2 separate regions of the Homo sapiens genome follow, and region 1 is linked to region 2. The links are contacts of gene promoters, found by promoter capture Hi-C in blood cells and fetal thymus (Javierre and others, 2016). All regions are on one chromosome and are shown on one strand. The core of a region is centred on a gene start or on the middle of the fragment in contact, and the rest is flanking DNA. Distances in the headings are between cores, read along the strand shown.

Region 1 (7,184 bases), core at 1,472-3,971, 160 kb before region 2:
CAGCCTCCCAAAGTGCTGAGATTACAGGCATGAGCCACCAAGCCCGGCTGGTTATACTGACTTTATAGAATGATTTAGGGAGGATTCCCTCTTGCTCTATCTCTTAGAGTAGTTTCAGTAGGATTGGTACCAATTATTTTTGAACGTCTGATAGAATTCAGCTGTGAATCCATCTGGTCCTGGACACTTTTTTTTTTGGTAATTTTTAAGTTACCATTTCAGTCTTGCTGCTTGTTATTGGTCTGGTCAGAGTTTCTATTTCTTACTAGTTTAATCTAGGAGGGTTGTATATTTCCAGGAATTTATACATCTCCTCTAGGTTTTCTAGTTTGTGAGGGTAAAGGTGTTCACAGCAGCCTTGAATGATCTTTTGTATTTCTGCCATATTGTTTGTAATACATCCCATTTTGTTTCTAATTGAGCTTATTCGAATCTTCTCTCTTCTTTTCTTGAGTAATCTTTCTAATGGTCTATGAATTTTGTTTATCTTTTCAAAGAACCTGCTTTTTGCTTCATTTATCTCTTGTTTTCTTTTTTTGTTTGTTTGTTTCAATTGTATTTAGCTCTGCTCTGATCTTTGTAATTTCTTTTCTTCTGCTGGGTTTGGGTTTGGTTTATTCTTGTTGCTCTATTTCCTTGAGGTGTGGCCTTTAATTGTCTCTTTGTGCTCTTTCAGACATTTTGAGGTAGGCATTTAATGCTATAAACTTTCCTTGTAGCATTGCTTTTGCTGTATTCCTGAGGTTATGATAGGTTTTGTCACTAGTATCATTCAGTTCAAAAAAAATTTTTTTTTTGGCGACAGAGTTTCACTCTGTCATCCATGCTGGAGTACAATGGTGCAATCTCGGCTCACTGCAACCTCCATCTCCCAGGTTCAAGCGATTCTCCTGCCTCAGCTTCCCAAGTAGCTGAGATTACAGGTATGTACCACCATGCCTGGCAAATTTTGTATTTTTAGTAGAGACAGGGTTTCTCCGTGTTGGTCAGGCTGGTCTCAAGTTCCCGACCACAGGTGATCCACCCACTTCGGCCTCCCGAAGTGCTGGGATTACAGATGTGAGCCACCATGCCCGGCCCAGTTCAAATAATTTTTTAATTTCCATTTTGATTTCATTGTTGACCCAGGGATCATTCAGGAGCAGATTATTTAATTTACATGTATTCGTATAGTTTTGAATGTTCCTTTTGGAGTTAATTTCCAATTTTATTTCACATTGCCCTGGGAGAGTACTTGATATAATTTCAATTTTCTCAAATTTATTGAGACTTGTTTTGTGGTCTATCATATTGTCTATCTTGGAGAATGTTCCATGTGCTGAAGAATAGAATGTATATTCTGTAGTTGTTGGGTAGAATGCTCTGTAAATATCTGTTAAGTGCATTCGTTCTAGGGCATAGTTTAAGTTCATTATTTCTTTGTTGACTCTCTGTCTTGATGACCTGTCTAGTGCTGTCAGTAGAGTATCGAAATCCCCCACTATTATTGTGTTGCCATCTATATCATTTCTTTCACCTAGTAGTAATTATTATTATTATTATTATTATTTTTTTTTTTTGAGACAGAATCTTACTCTGTCACCCAGGCTGAAGTGCAGTGGTGCCATCTTGCCTCAATGCAACCTTCACCTCTCATGTAGCTGGGATTATAGGCATGCACCACCACACCCAGCTAATTTTTCTATTTTTAGTAGAGATAGGGTTTCACTATGATGGCCAGGCTGATCTTCAACTCCTGGCCTCAAGTGATCTGCCTGCCTCGGCCTACCAAAGCACTGGGATTACAGGTGTGAGCCACCACGCCTAGCCAGTAGTAATTGTTTCATAAATTTGGGAGCTCCAGTGTTAGATGCATATATATTTAGGATTGTCATATTTTCCTATTGGACTAATCCTATTATTATTATATAATGTTCTCTTTGTCTTTTTTAAATTGTCATTACTTTAAAGTCTGTTTTGTCTGATATAAGTATAGCTACTCTGGCTTGATTTTGGTTTCCATTAGCATGGAATATATTTTTCCACCCCTTTACCTTAACTCAGTGCGGGCCCTTGTGTGTTAGGTGAGTCAGTTGAAGGCAGCTGATTCTTGGTTGGTGGATTTTTAACCATTCTGCCATTCTTTATCTTTTAAGTGAAACATTTAGGCCATTTACATTCAAAATTTCTACTGAGATGTGAGGTACTATCCTATTCATCATGCTAGTTGTTACCTGAATACCTTGTTTTGTTTTCACTGTGTTTTATAGGCCTTATGAGATTTATGCTTTGAGGAAGATCTATTTTGGTATATTTTGAGGTTTTGTTTCAAGATTTAGAACTCCTTTTGGCATTTCTTGTAGTGCTGGCTTGGTAGTGGTGAATTCTCTCAGCATTTGTCTGAAAAAGAGTTTATCTCTCTTTCATTTATCAAGCTTAGTTTTGCTGGATACAAAGTTCTTGCCTGATAATTATTTTGTTTAAGGAGGCTAAAGATAGGACCCCAGGCAGGGCACAGTGGCTCACGCCTGTAATCCTAGCACTTTGGGAGGCCAAGGAGGGGCAGAACACGAGGTCAAGAGTTTGAGACCATCCTGGCCAACATGGTGAAATCCCATCTCTACCAAAAATACAAAAATTAGCTGGGCATGGTGGTGCGTGCCTGTAGTTCCAGCTACTTGGGAGGCTGAGGCAGGAGAATCGCTTGAACCCAGAAGGCAGAGGTTACAGTGAGCCAAGATCATGCCACTGCACTCCAGCCTGGGCCTCAGTGTGAGACTCCGTCTTAAAAAGAAAGAAAGAAAAAAAAGATAGGACCCCAATCCCTCTGGCTTATAGGGTTTCTACTGAGAAATCTGCTGTTAATTCAATAGGTTCTCCTTTATGTTTTACCTGATGTTTTTGTCTCACAGCTCTTAAGATTATTTCCTTTGTCTTGACTTGATGATTAAGTGCCTAGGTGATGATCTTTTTATGATAACTTTCCCAGGTGTTCCTTGAGTTTCTTGTATTTGAATGTCTAGATCTCTAGCAGGGCCAAGGAAGCTTTTTTTTCATTATTATTCCCTCAAATATGTCTTCCAAACTTTTAGATTTCTCTTCTTCCTCAGGAACACAAATTATTCTTATGTTTGCTCATTTAATAGAATCTCAAATTTCTTGGAAACTTTGTTCATTTTTTTAAAATTCATTTTGTCTTTGTCTTTGTCTCATTGGGTTAATTTGAAAGCCTTGTCTTTAAGCTCTGAAGTTCTTTTTTCTACTTGTTCTAGTCTATTGTTGAAACTTTCCAGTGTATTTGGTATTTCTCTAAGTGTGTCTTTCATTTCCAGAAGTTGTGAGTGTTTTTTCTTTATGATATCTATTTTTCTGGAGAATTTTTAATCCATATCCTGTATTGTTTTTAAAATGTCTTTAAGTTGGTTTTCACCTTTCTGTGGGTGGCAAGCCACCCAGGTGCCAGCCAAAGCAAGAGACCGAGGGTACAAGCTGTTCCAGTATAATAAAGAAAATATATAGAATAAGAATAGTTATACTAGAAATAGATTATGGATATGATTACATATGAATGTTATTAATCATTAGTAGCTTTATTCTTTATTCCAATATTATAATAATCTTTGTTCTACAATTATAACCTAGGAAAAACCAGGCCATACAGAGATAGGAACTGAAGGGACACAGAAGTGACCGGAAGACAAGAGTATGAGCCATCTGTCATGCCCAGACAGGGTCACTAGAGGGCTCCTTGTTCTAGTGGTAATGCCAGTGCCTTGGAAGGCACCCGTTACTTAGCCGACCGGGAAAGGGAGTCTTTCTTTCCCCCAGGGGAGTTAGAGAAGACTCTGCTGCACCACCTCTTGTGGAAGGCCTGACAACAGTCAGTCTCACCCTCAGCCATCCGGAGTCCTAACCGTTTCCCTGTGATGCTGTGGTTCAGCGGTCACGCTCCTGGTCCACTTTCATGTTCCGCCTTGTACACCTGGCTCTGCCTTCTAGATAGCAGTAGCAGAATTAGTGAAAGTACTAAAGTCTTTGAAATGCGTGGAAGAAATAATGACATAAGCCGTCCCCTCTCTTTCTCCGCCTTGGCTACTAAACAGGGAAGGGACACCCCCCCACCCCCGGGTCCGGTGGACACGTGACTCGTGTGATCTTACTTATCATTGGAGATGGCTCACACTCCTTACCCTGCCCTCTTGCTTTGTATCCAGTAAATAACAGCACAGCCAGGCATTCGCGGGCACTACTGGTCTCCGCGTCTAGGTGGTAGTGGTCCCCCGGGCCCAGCTGTCTTTTCTTCTATCTCTTTGTCTTGTGTCTTTATTTCTACGATCCCTTGTCTCCTCACATGAGGAGAAAAACCCACAGGCCCAGTAGGACTGGACCCTACACTTTCTCTGGTAACTCCTTGAGTAGCTTAATAATCAACCTTCTGAATTCTTTATCTGGCAATTCAGAGGTTTCCTCTTGGTTTGGTTCCATTGCTAGAGAGCTAGTGTGATCTTTTAGGGGTGTCAAAGAACCTTGTTTTTTCATATTACCAGAATCACTTTTCTTGTTCCTTCTCATTTGGGAGGATTATTTCAGGTGAAAAATCTGGAACTCAAGGGCTGCTGTTCAGGTTCTTTTGTTCCACCAGGTGATCCCTTGCTGTGGTGTTCTCTCCCTTCTCCTGGGATGGGGGCTTCCTGAGAGTTGGGCTGCAATGATTGTTACTGCCACCCAGCAGAGCTACTGGGCTCTGGGCTAGTACTGGGGATTGTCTGCAAAGAGTCCTGTGATGTGATCTGTCCTTTGGTCTCCCAGCTGTGGATACCCAGTGAAGGTGGCAGGGGAGTGAAGTGGACTCTGTGGGAATTGTTGGTTGTACTTTTGTTTAGTGCACTGTTTTTCTAGAATGCTGGTAATCCTAGCAGTGAAGTTGTCATGTGGAAGGATTCAGGAACCTCTGGTTAGCCATGTTGTAGGGAGTGGAATTAGCTGTTGTTTTCTCCTTCTTTGGAGCAGAGTTGTTTTCTTATGAGTTGCTATAATGGCTTAAGTTGGGTGACCTCCAGCTAGGAAGTGGTGCTTTCAAGAGAGCACCAGCTGTGGTAGAAGGGGGATATAAGCTTGCCCTATGTTGGTCAGGATAAGTATTCAGGCTTCTCAGGTGATGGGCAAGGCCACAGAGCTCCCACGAATTTATGTCTTTTGTCTTCAGCTATCAGGGCAGGTAGAGAAAAACTATCAGATGGGGGCAGGGTTAGATGGATCTGAGCTCAGACTCTTCTCTGGGGCTTGCTGAGGCCACTGTCCGGTATGGGGAGTGTGGTTCTCAGGCCAATGGAATTATGTTCCCAGGGGGATTATGGCTGCCTCTGCTGTGTCATCCAGGTTGCCAGGGAAGTGGAGAAAGCCAGCGGTGGTTAGCCTCCTCCAGCTTCCACGCAGCCAGCAAGGCCGTCTCATTCCTGCTGTGCCCTGCCAACACCACCGAGTTTATATTCAGGCAGCTGGCATGCGGGGCTGAGCTCTTGCCCCAGGCCGTAAGCTTCCCTGCTGAGAAGGGTAGCAGAACTTTCAGGCCTTGCCCCTCCCTGTCTGCCTACACCTTTGGCTGTAGCTTCTGAGCTGCTATCTGCACTTCCTGTTCACCCCCTGAGTTCTGCTCACAAAAATTCGTGCTGGGTCAAAATTATTACAAAGTTCAGCTAGAAGCTTCTTTCACCCTTTGACCCTTCCCTAATTCCTCTGGCTGCCTTCCCCAAGGACCCCTGTGAGATTAAGTCAGGGACGGTTTCCTTGGGCTCAAGTTGGGGACTGGGAGTGCCTACAAGGCTCTTCCCACTGCTTTTTCTACTTTTCATATTTTGCTCAGCTCCCTAAATCTGTTTTAGCTCTAGGTAAGGTTAAATTCTTCTCCTGTGATCTGGATTTTCAGGTTCCCCAGTGTTTGGGGATGTGTGTTTGGAGGCAGGCTTTCCCCGACCTCACACGTTGGGAACTCACAGTTTTTCTACTATCTCATAGAGTTTGCAACAGCAAACTGCTTCTTTCAGAGGGTCTGTGAATTCTTTCAGTTTTCCTGATATGTTCCTGCAGTGGTACTTGAGCAAAATTTCACGATATGAGTCTCTACAAGCTGTTCTGTTCATCCAAGTGGGAGCTACACATTAGACCTGTCTCCTATTTGCCATTTTCTTTCTCACTGCACCCTCTTAGAGTTTTTTCCTTTTTTTTTTTTTTTTTTTGAGACAGAGTCTCCCTCTGTCATCCAGGCTGGAATGCAGTGGCATGATCTTGGCTCACTGCAACCTTCACCTCCCAGGTTCAAGTGATTCTCATGCCTCAGCCTCCTGAGTAGCTGGGATTACAGGCACCCGTCACCACGCCCAGCTATTTTTTTTTTTGTATTTTTAGTAGAGACAGGTTTCACCATGTTGGCCAGGCTAGTCTCAAACTCCTAACCTCAAGTTTCCTAGAGTGCTGGAATTATAGGCATGAGCCACTGCCCCTGGACTACATTTTTAAAGACTTGTTTTGTGGCCTAACATATCTATTCTGGAATATGTTCTGTGTGTATACTTGAGAGGAATGTGTATTTTAGTGGGGTTGGATATATTGTCCTATATATGTCATTCAGGTCCATTTGGTCTAAAACAAGCTTGTCCAACCCATGGCCCATGGGCTACATGCGGCCCAGGATGGCTTTGAATGTGACCCAACACAAATTCGTAAACTTTCTCAAAACATTATGAGATTTTTTTTTCTTTTAGCTTATCAGCTATTGTTAGTGTATTTTATATGTGGCTCAAGACAATTCTTCTTCTTCCAATGTTGCCCAAGGAAGCCAAAAGATTGGACACCCATGGTCTAATGTGTAGTTCAAGTCCAATGTTTCCTTATTGATTTTTTGTCTGGATGATCTGTTCATTATTGAAAATAGGGTTTGAAATTCTCCTGCTATTATCATATTGCAATCTGTCTTTCTCTTCAGATCTGTTAATATTTGCTTCATATATTTAGGAGCTCCAGTGTTGGGGGTGTATATATTTACAGTTGTTATATCCTTCTCTCTAAATGTCTGAAATAAAGTTGTCATATCCTTTTGATTACTTGACCCCTTTATCACTATATAATGACAATTTTTATCCATTTTTACAGTTTTTTTACTTAAGATCTATTTTGTCTGTTATAAATATTGCCACTCCTGCTCTCTT
Region 2 (7,238 bases), core at 372-2,871:
TGTATATTACTTGTTCAAAAAACTACAAAGTTGTTAGAACATAAATAGTTATTAAGTTTTTGTCTACTTAATAGGAGAAACTATGGTCTGGGGGCACCTTGAAGAAATTGCACACCAAGGGCTCCTTGAACCTAGAAAGTTGAAAACTTCTGGGCAAGAGTTTTATTTTCCGAGTTTATTTTATTGACCCGGAGATTTTATTTGTTGATGTCAAGAAAATGCATATTATACTATATTTGAGGCTAGCATTGTATCAATTAGCCAATGTTTAACTGTTTCCAGTGTGACTCACCTATGCATTTACTAGGAAGCCATTGGCACTGTCAGATTTGTATCCAGCCCTCTATTTATGCATTCCCCATCTTCTCCTCCTTCCCTACTCCCTCTGTCTCTCTCTCTCACACACACACATACACACACACACACACTCCTACACCTTAGTGCATGAAAATACTTCAGAATACTGGTTGGCACAGACTGCACAATGATACCCTATCCTCAAGTGGGTTGTGACATTTCAGGAGTAATCAGAGAGAGATTCAGCTGGATGGCAGTTGGGGTGGGTGAAGGTGCCTACTTAGCCCCTGGGAACAAAGGAGCACAGCTGGTAAGAAACTTGGGTCCAAGGAGGGCCATACTCTGGGATTTCTGTCCTCTAGCAGCAGCTCCTCATTTACTCAAATGTTCCTAACCACAACAAGCAAATAAAAATTCTCCCAGGCTTTAGGTCCTCTGTGCCAGTTACAAGGCCATAGCAGATTCCCTAGGATGCAGGGGAAACTCTAATAACCAAGGACTCAGTTTCTCCATCTGCAGAACAGATGGCATAGACCTGAATATCTAAAAATGATTTTCAAACCCTTGATGTTTATGATCTTGTGAATTTAACTGGAGCAGGATTAGTAAAAAAGATGTGCCAATCACATGGAAATCAATAAATTTTGACATAATACATAGAATGAAGCACGAAACACTTTTAACAACAGAAAAAAAGATGACATGACAGAACAGATTAGTCAAATTCTAAAGGGGCTTGCCTTTTGCTTCCCACTTGTGCCAAATGCCAACATTTGGTAGTCACCCTTCAAAAACTATGATCTCAGACAATGTTAGAAGCTGCTGATGGAAGCACTAAAAAAAAAAAGAGACTTTTCCTCTTGCATTAGAAATCCAAGTTTTTCCCATTTGATTCAACCACTTAATAATCTACCCAACAGTATACTTACCTGTGTACATGGAAGACAGGTAAGTATACTGCTGGGTAGATTATTAAGTGGTTGAATCAATGATATTGTCCCATTATAAGTATCCAAACATTTACTACTCCTATACTTTGGGCCAAGGAGTAGCTTTATAGCTCCTCCAGGGTTGGACAGAGAAAGCTGCTTTCTGATAAGGTGGTTCTTCCCTGGAGCACAATAACAAAACAGGAAAACTCCAGACCCCACTTTCCTCATCCAAAGAAATCAGAGATTATATCTGGTTACTTACTTTACGTACTTGTAATTTCTGGTGCCAATGGCTCTGCCACGCAGGACTCTGGTATTAGCAGAGATCAAAATGAATCAGTATGAGCCAGTGCTGGCTTGGGAGTCCCCAGCACAGTGGATAAACCTGGTCTAAGAGATAAGGAATGTTAAATTTGAAACCCAAGGTTAGCCGTTGTTTATATTTTAACTTGTTGATTAATGCAACAGCGAAATGCTAGGAGAAACACTGTCTGGTGATATGTACTTTAGACTCACTCTTCTGCTTACAGACTATAAACTAAGTTAGGGAGTTACACCAGCATCCTCACTTGTTCATCAGTTTTATTCTTTAAGGGGATGAGAATAAAATAAGACAATTATGTTAACAGTTACTACACCACAGATTCACTTTTAAGGGCTTTGATCCATTTCACCTTTAGGGACAATTATTATTTTTAAAAAATCATATATTACTCACATTAGTAAACTCAATTTGTAAAGGCTTTTTAAGTGCAGCTGATTGCCCAAGCACTTGGGAAATAAAAGACAGGTATATGGGAGGAGTCTGATCTTGGGAATCACAAGTCCTGGGTTCGAGTATTGCGTTCACCAGCTATTATCAGAGTCATGTTGGAAAAATTGTATAACTTTTCTCAGCTTTAGTTTCCTCAATTTAAAATAGGCATGATCGAGTGGCTGCCAGGGGCTGGGGAAAGAAGGGAATGGGGAAGGATTGCTAATGAGTATGGAGTTTTCTTTTGGGTGTGATGAAAGTGTTTTGAAACTGGATAGAGGTTGTGGTTACACAGCATTATGAATGTACTAAATGCCACTGAATTCTATACTTTGAAATGGTTAACGACAGATTGTTGGAAAATGGTGGATAGGAGGCAGGACTAACTTGCAGTTTCCACGCAGACAGACAGAACAGCATGTGGAGACTCACACAGTGAAATTTTCCTCCAAGAAGTACTGCATGAACATACCAGGAAAACCAAAAGAATTCACAGGACCTTTGAAAGAAGTGGCTTGCCGCTGCAAACTCCATGAGACAGCTGAAAAACTGTGAGTGCCCAAAGTGTGAGTGGGGGAAAAAATCTGCCTCCAAACACGCAAACCCACTAGGGAACCTAAAAATCCAGATCACAGGAGAAGGATTTAACCTTACCTAGAGCTGGGATGAATTTAGAGAGCAAAACGAAATATAAAAGTAGAAGCAGTGGGAAGAGCCCTGTAGGTACTCTTGGTGCCCAGGGAAGTCATTTCTGACTTTATCTCACAGGGGTCCTTGAGGAGGGCTGCCAGTGAAATTGAGGAAGGACCACAGGGAGAAGGAAACTTCCAGCTGAACTTTGTAATAGTTTTGACTATTAGCCTGAGAAACACGAATACTTATCCAGGAGACCTTAGGGCAATCTTGCATTCTCCCTATACTACCGCAGCTGATGCTGTCTTGAAAATGAGGAAAAGGAGTCATTATACAAAAAAGATACTTGAACACACTTGTTTATAGCAGCACAATTTGCAATTGCAAAAAATGAAACCAGCCAAAATGCCCATCAATCAATGAGTGGATAAATAATTCGTGGTATATACATACCATGGAATACTACTCAGCCATAAAAAGGGATGAAATAATGGCATTCACAGCAACCTGGATGGAGTTGCAGACCATTATCCTAAGTGAAGTAACTTGGGAGTGGAAAACTGAACATTCTATGTTCTCACTCATAAGTTGGAGCTAGGCTATGAGAATACAAAGGCATAAAAATGATACAATGGACTTTGGGGACTTGGGGGTAAGTGTTGGAGTGGGGGGTGATGCATAAAAGACTACACATTGGGTATAGTGTACACTGCTCAGATGATGGGTGCACCAAAACCCACAAATCACCATTAAAGAACTTATCCAGGTAACAAAACACCACCTGCTCCCCCAAAAGCTATTGAAATAAATAAAATAAAAAATTCTAAAAAATAAATAAAACAGGCATAATAACATCTGCATCAGATAGTTGTGGTGGGGATTAGATGAGATAATCTATGTCAAGAGATTTGTGTATATATAGTAAATACTGTGTATGATTGTAATGATGATAATGATGATGATGATGATGCTGTCATTGTTGGACCAGATAAGGTGTCTTGATTGCTGGTTCATAACACTGAAATGACTCCCACAGGTACAGAGAATAAATTCCATGAGAGGTTGGTGGACTGAAGCAGAGAGAAATTTCTGAAAGAATATGTCTTTTTCCTTGATTTTCAACATGGTATAACCCTTTGACCTGGAGGTCCTGTGTATCACTGAGTATACTGCTTGCTCATTGGGCTCACCTTTTGCCTCATTTCTGGCTTATTAAGTATTCAGCACAGAGACAGCATTGTTAGCTCTGTGAAATTCAGCTGCTTTGCTGCAGCTATGAAAATAATAATATTTGGATGATTTCAAGCTTAATTATACCCAGAGAGTAAGCCTTTAAAATGACTATTAGTTCAAGTATGTTTTCAAAAATCAGAATATGTTTGATTTGTAATTTACCTTGGTGTGCAGCATATACACATCAAGGTAAGTATGTAAGTACTGGGATTTGGTACACTAATGGTGGGACTTAACTTGTCCCTGGGCCTTACCAGGCATGCTGCTAACATAAGGAGAATCACAGGACTTTAAACTGTTGGTTGAGAATAAGATGATGATTTTATTATATCATCTCATTTTCCATAATCAGCAAGAGACTTGTAGTAATTAAAAATGAGAAGACCGGCCTTCGGTGGCAACTTCAGTTTCTGCTATTTTTAGGGATTTTTGTTAGTCAGTTATACTCTAGGCCATGGGATAAGGAAGGATATGTAGTCCCCTTATTCGAGTGGACCTAGACCCTAAGAAGCTGAATTGGTAGACAATAATGCTCTTTAGGAAATATTCTGGACCTCCTACCTTCAGGGAAGATGAATGGTAGGATTGTTCTTCTTGGCCCTCTAGCGGTTGGTTGGGAGGAATGTGACTCGTTCTGGTCAAAGAACTGTGAGCTAGAGTAAGGTGTCCTTTCTGGGCTAGAGCACTTAATTGCCAGTAAGATTCCATAGAACTTTCTTTTCCTTCAGTGTGGTAATCAGCAACTTTCAAGATGGCTCTTCTATTAGTCCGAATACCTGGTGAATGTGATGAGCAGGGCCTACACTAATGGACACATACATGAAATAATCTTTGTTTTATTTCAAGGTATCGAGGTTTGGGGATTGGTTGTTAATGCATCATACCAAGTCTTTATTGATCAATGCACTAGAGGGATGTTTCTTAGCTCCTTCATTGTATTTCTCAATCATCTTCTTTTTTAAAAAGTATATTTTTTATTTCGATAGGTTTTTAGGGAGCAGGTGGTGTTTGGTTACATGAAAAAGTTCTTTAGTGGTGATTTGCGAGATTTTGGTGCACTCATCACCCAAGCAGTGTACACTGTACGCAATGTGTAGTCTTTTATGCCTCACCTCCCTCCTGCCCTTTCCCCTAAGTCCCCAAAGTCCATCGTATCATTCTTATGCCTTTGCATTCTCATAGCTTAGCTCCCACTTATGAGTGAGAACATACAATGTTTGGTTTTCCATTCCTGGGTTACTTTACTTAGAATAATGGTCTCTAACTCCATCCAGGTTGCTGCAAATGCCATTATTTTGTTCCTTTTTTTATGGTTGAGTAGTGTTCCATGGTGTGTGTGTGTGTGTATATATATATATGTATCATAAATTATTATCCACTCATTGATTGATGGGCATTTGAGCTGGTTCTATATTTTGGCAATTGCAAATTGTGGTGACGTAAACATGCTTGTGCAAGTATCTTTCTTGTGTAATGACTTCTTTTCCTCTGGTTAGATACCCAGTAGTGGGATTGCTGAATCAAATGGTAGAACTACTTTCAATTCTTTAAGGAATCTCCACACTGTTTTCCATAGTGGTTGTACTACTTTAAATTCACACCAGCAGTGTAAAAGTTTTCCCTTTTCACCACATTCATGCCAACATCTATAATTTTATATTTTTAAAATTATGGACATTCTTGCAGGAGTAAGGTGGTATTGCATTGTGGTTTTGATTTGCATTTCCCTGATCATTAGTGATGTTGAACATTTTTCCATATGCTTGTTGGCCATTTGTATATCTTCTTTTGAGAATTGTCTATTCATGTCTTTAGCCCACTTTTTGATGAGATTGTTCGTTTTTTCCTGCTGATTTGTTTGAGTTCCTTGTAGATTCTGGATATTAGTCTTTTGTTTTATGTATAGATTGCAAAGATTTTCTCCCACTCTGTGGGTTGTCCGTTAACTCTGCTAATTATTTCATTTGTTGTGCAGAAGCTTTTTAATTTAATTAAGTCCAATCTATTTATCTTTGTTTTTGTTGCATTTGCTTTTGGCTTCTTGGTCATGAAGTCTTTGCTTAAGTCAATGTCTAGAAGAGTTTTTCTGATGTTATCGTCTAGTATTTTTATGGTTTCAGGTGTTAGATTTGTCTTTCATTCATCTTGAGTTGTCAACCATCTTCTTCAGTCTCACTTCCATTACTCTATTTCACTTCTCTGATTCACAGTTAGAGCCACAGAATTTTAGAGCTGAAAGAGAGCACAGAATTTACTTAGTCTGAAAATTGGACCCACCCCGTGAAATTGTTTTTCTCTCTACAAAAAACAAAGTTAAGACAAACACAATTCCCTAACTCACAACTTCCCGCTACACTCGAAGCATCAAAGGTCCCCTACCTACACAGATCTTCCCCACAGATACCTGTCATTCTAAAATGTGAGTGTTTGTTTTTTAATGCCACACATTAAAGGAAGTAATTCCCTCTGTTCCTTACACCTCGAGGTTATTATTTTTCTTTTCCTGAGAACCCACCTTTAGAATGAAAGCACTGAAAGTGGAGTTGGAGGGAGAACCAAGACTACTTAAGGCCAATTATTATGCTTGAAATGAGTTTACTAGTGTCAGTAGTGGTGATTCAGTGACTCACATATCCACTATCTGAAGATTGGAGGAAACAGCCACTTTTATGTTTTTCTTTTTAAGAATTTCTTTAAACATCTTTATAGCTTGATAAACATTTGTGACAAAGCCTGCAACTGTACGTTAGAAACTATCTTATCTATCATATCACTTAGAATTCTATCTTGAGTCTGCCTAAGGGGTTTGTAATTAATACAAAAGGTATTACATGGTATCATTTTTTAAAATTTTTTCTAAAAAAATGGGTACATGTGCAGAATGCGTGGGTTTGTTACATAGGTATACATGCGCCATGGTGGTTTGCTGCATCGTCTAAGTTCCCTTCCCTCACTCCTCACCCCCAACAGGCCCTGGTGTCTGTTGTTGCCCTCTCTGTGTCCGTATGTTCTTATTGTTCAACTCCCACTTATGAGAGAGAACAAATGGTATTTGGTTTTCTTTTCCTGTGTTAGCTTGCTGAGGATGATAGCTTTCAGCATCATCCATGTCCCTGCAAAGGATATGATCTCATTCCTTTTATAGTATCCCATGCTGTATATATGCCACACTTTCATTATCCAGTCTATCATTGATGGGCATTTGGTTTGGTTCCATGTCTTTGCTATTGTAAATGGTGCTGCAATAAATGTGTGCATGTGTCTTTACAGTAGAATAATTTATATTCCTTTGGGTATATATCCAGTATTGGAATTCTAGGTCAAATGTTATTTCTGGTCCTAGATCCTTGAGGAATCACCATACTGTCTTCCACAATGGTTGAACTAAC

The links. Contacts are between HindIII fragments. The CHiCAGO score rates a contact against its expected background, and 5 or more counts as called.
Region 1: a contact is called between a fragment that was not itself captured here and the fragment with the promoter of FMO1 in region 2, in 3 of 17 cell types (M2 macrophages, M1 macrophages and M0 macrophages). The highest score is 9.5, in M2 macrophages.

What each region holds. Positions count from the first base shown.
Region 1 is chr1:171,401,830-171,409,013 of GRCh38, reverse strand. No RefSeq gene overlaps it. Among named protein-coding and RNA genes, the nearest start is that of PRRC2C, 80 kb to the left of the region's middle. RefSeq lists silencers at 3,650-3,789, 3,610-3,904. The HindIII fragment of the contact is 610 bases long and covers 2,417-3,026 here.
Region 2 is chr1:171,242,877-171,250,114 of GRCh38, reverse strand. It overlaps FMO1 (flavin containing dimethylaniline monoxygenase 1), which reads right to left and starts at 1,621. Exons shown (of 9, transcript NM_001282693.2): 1 at 1,492-1,621. FMO1-AS1 (FMO1 antisense RNA 1) reads left to right here. Exons shown (of 5, transcript XR_922278.4): 2 at 2,388-2,534. The HindIII fragment of the contact is 5,013 bases long and covers 1-3,924 here.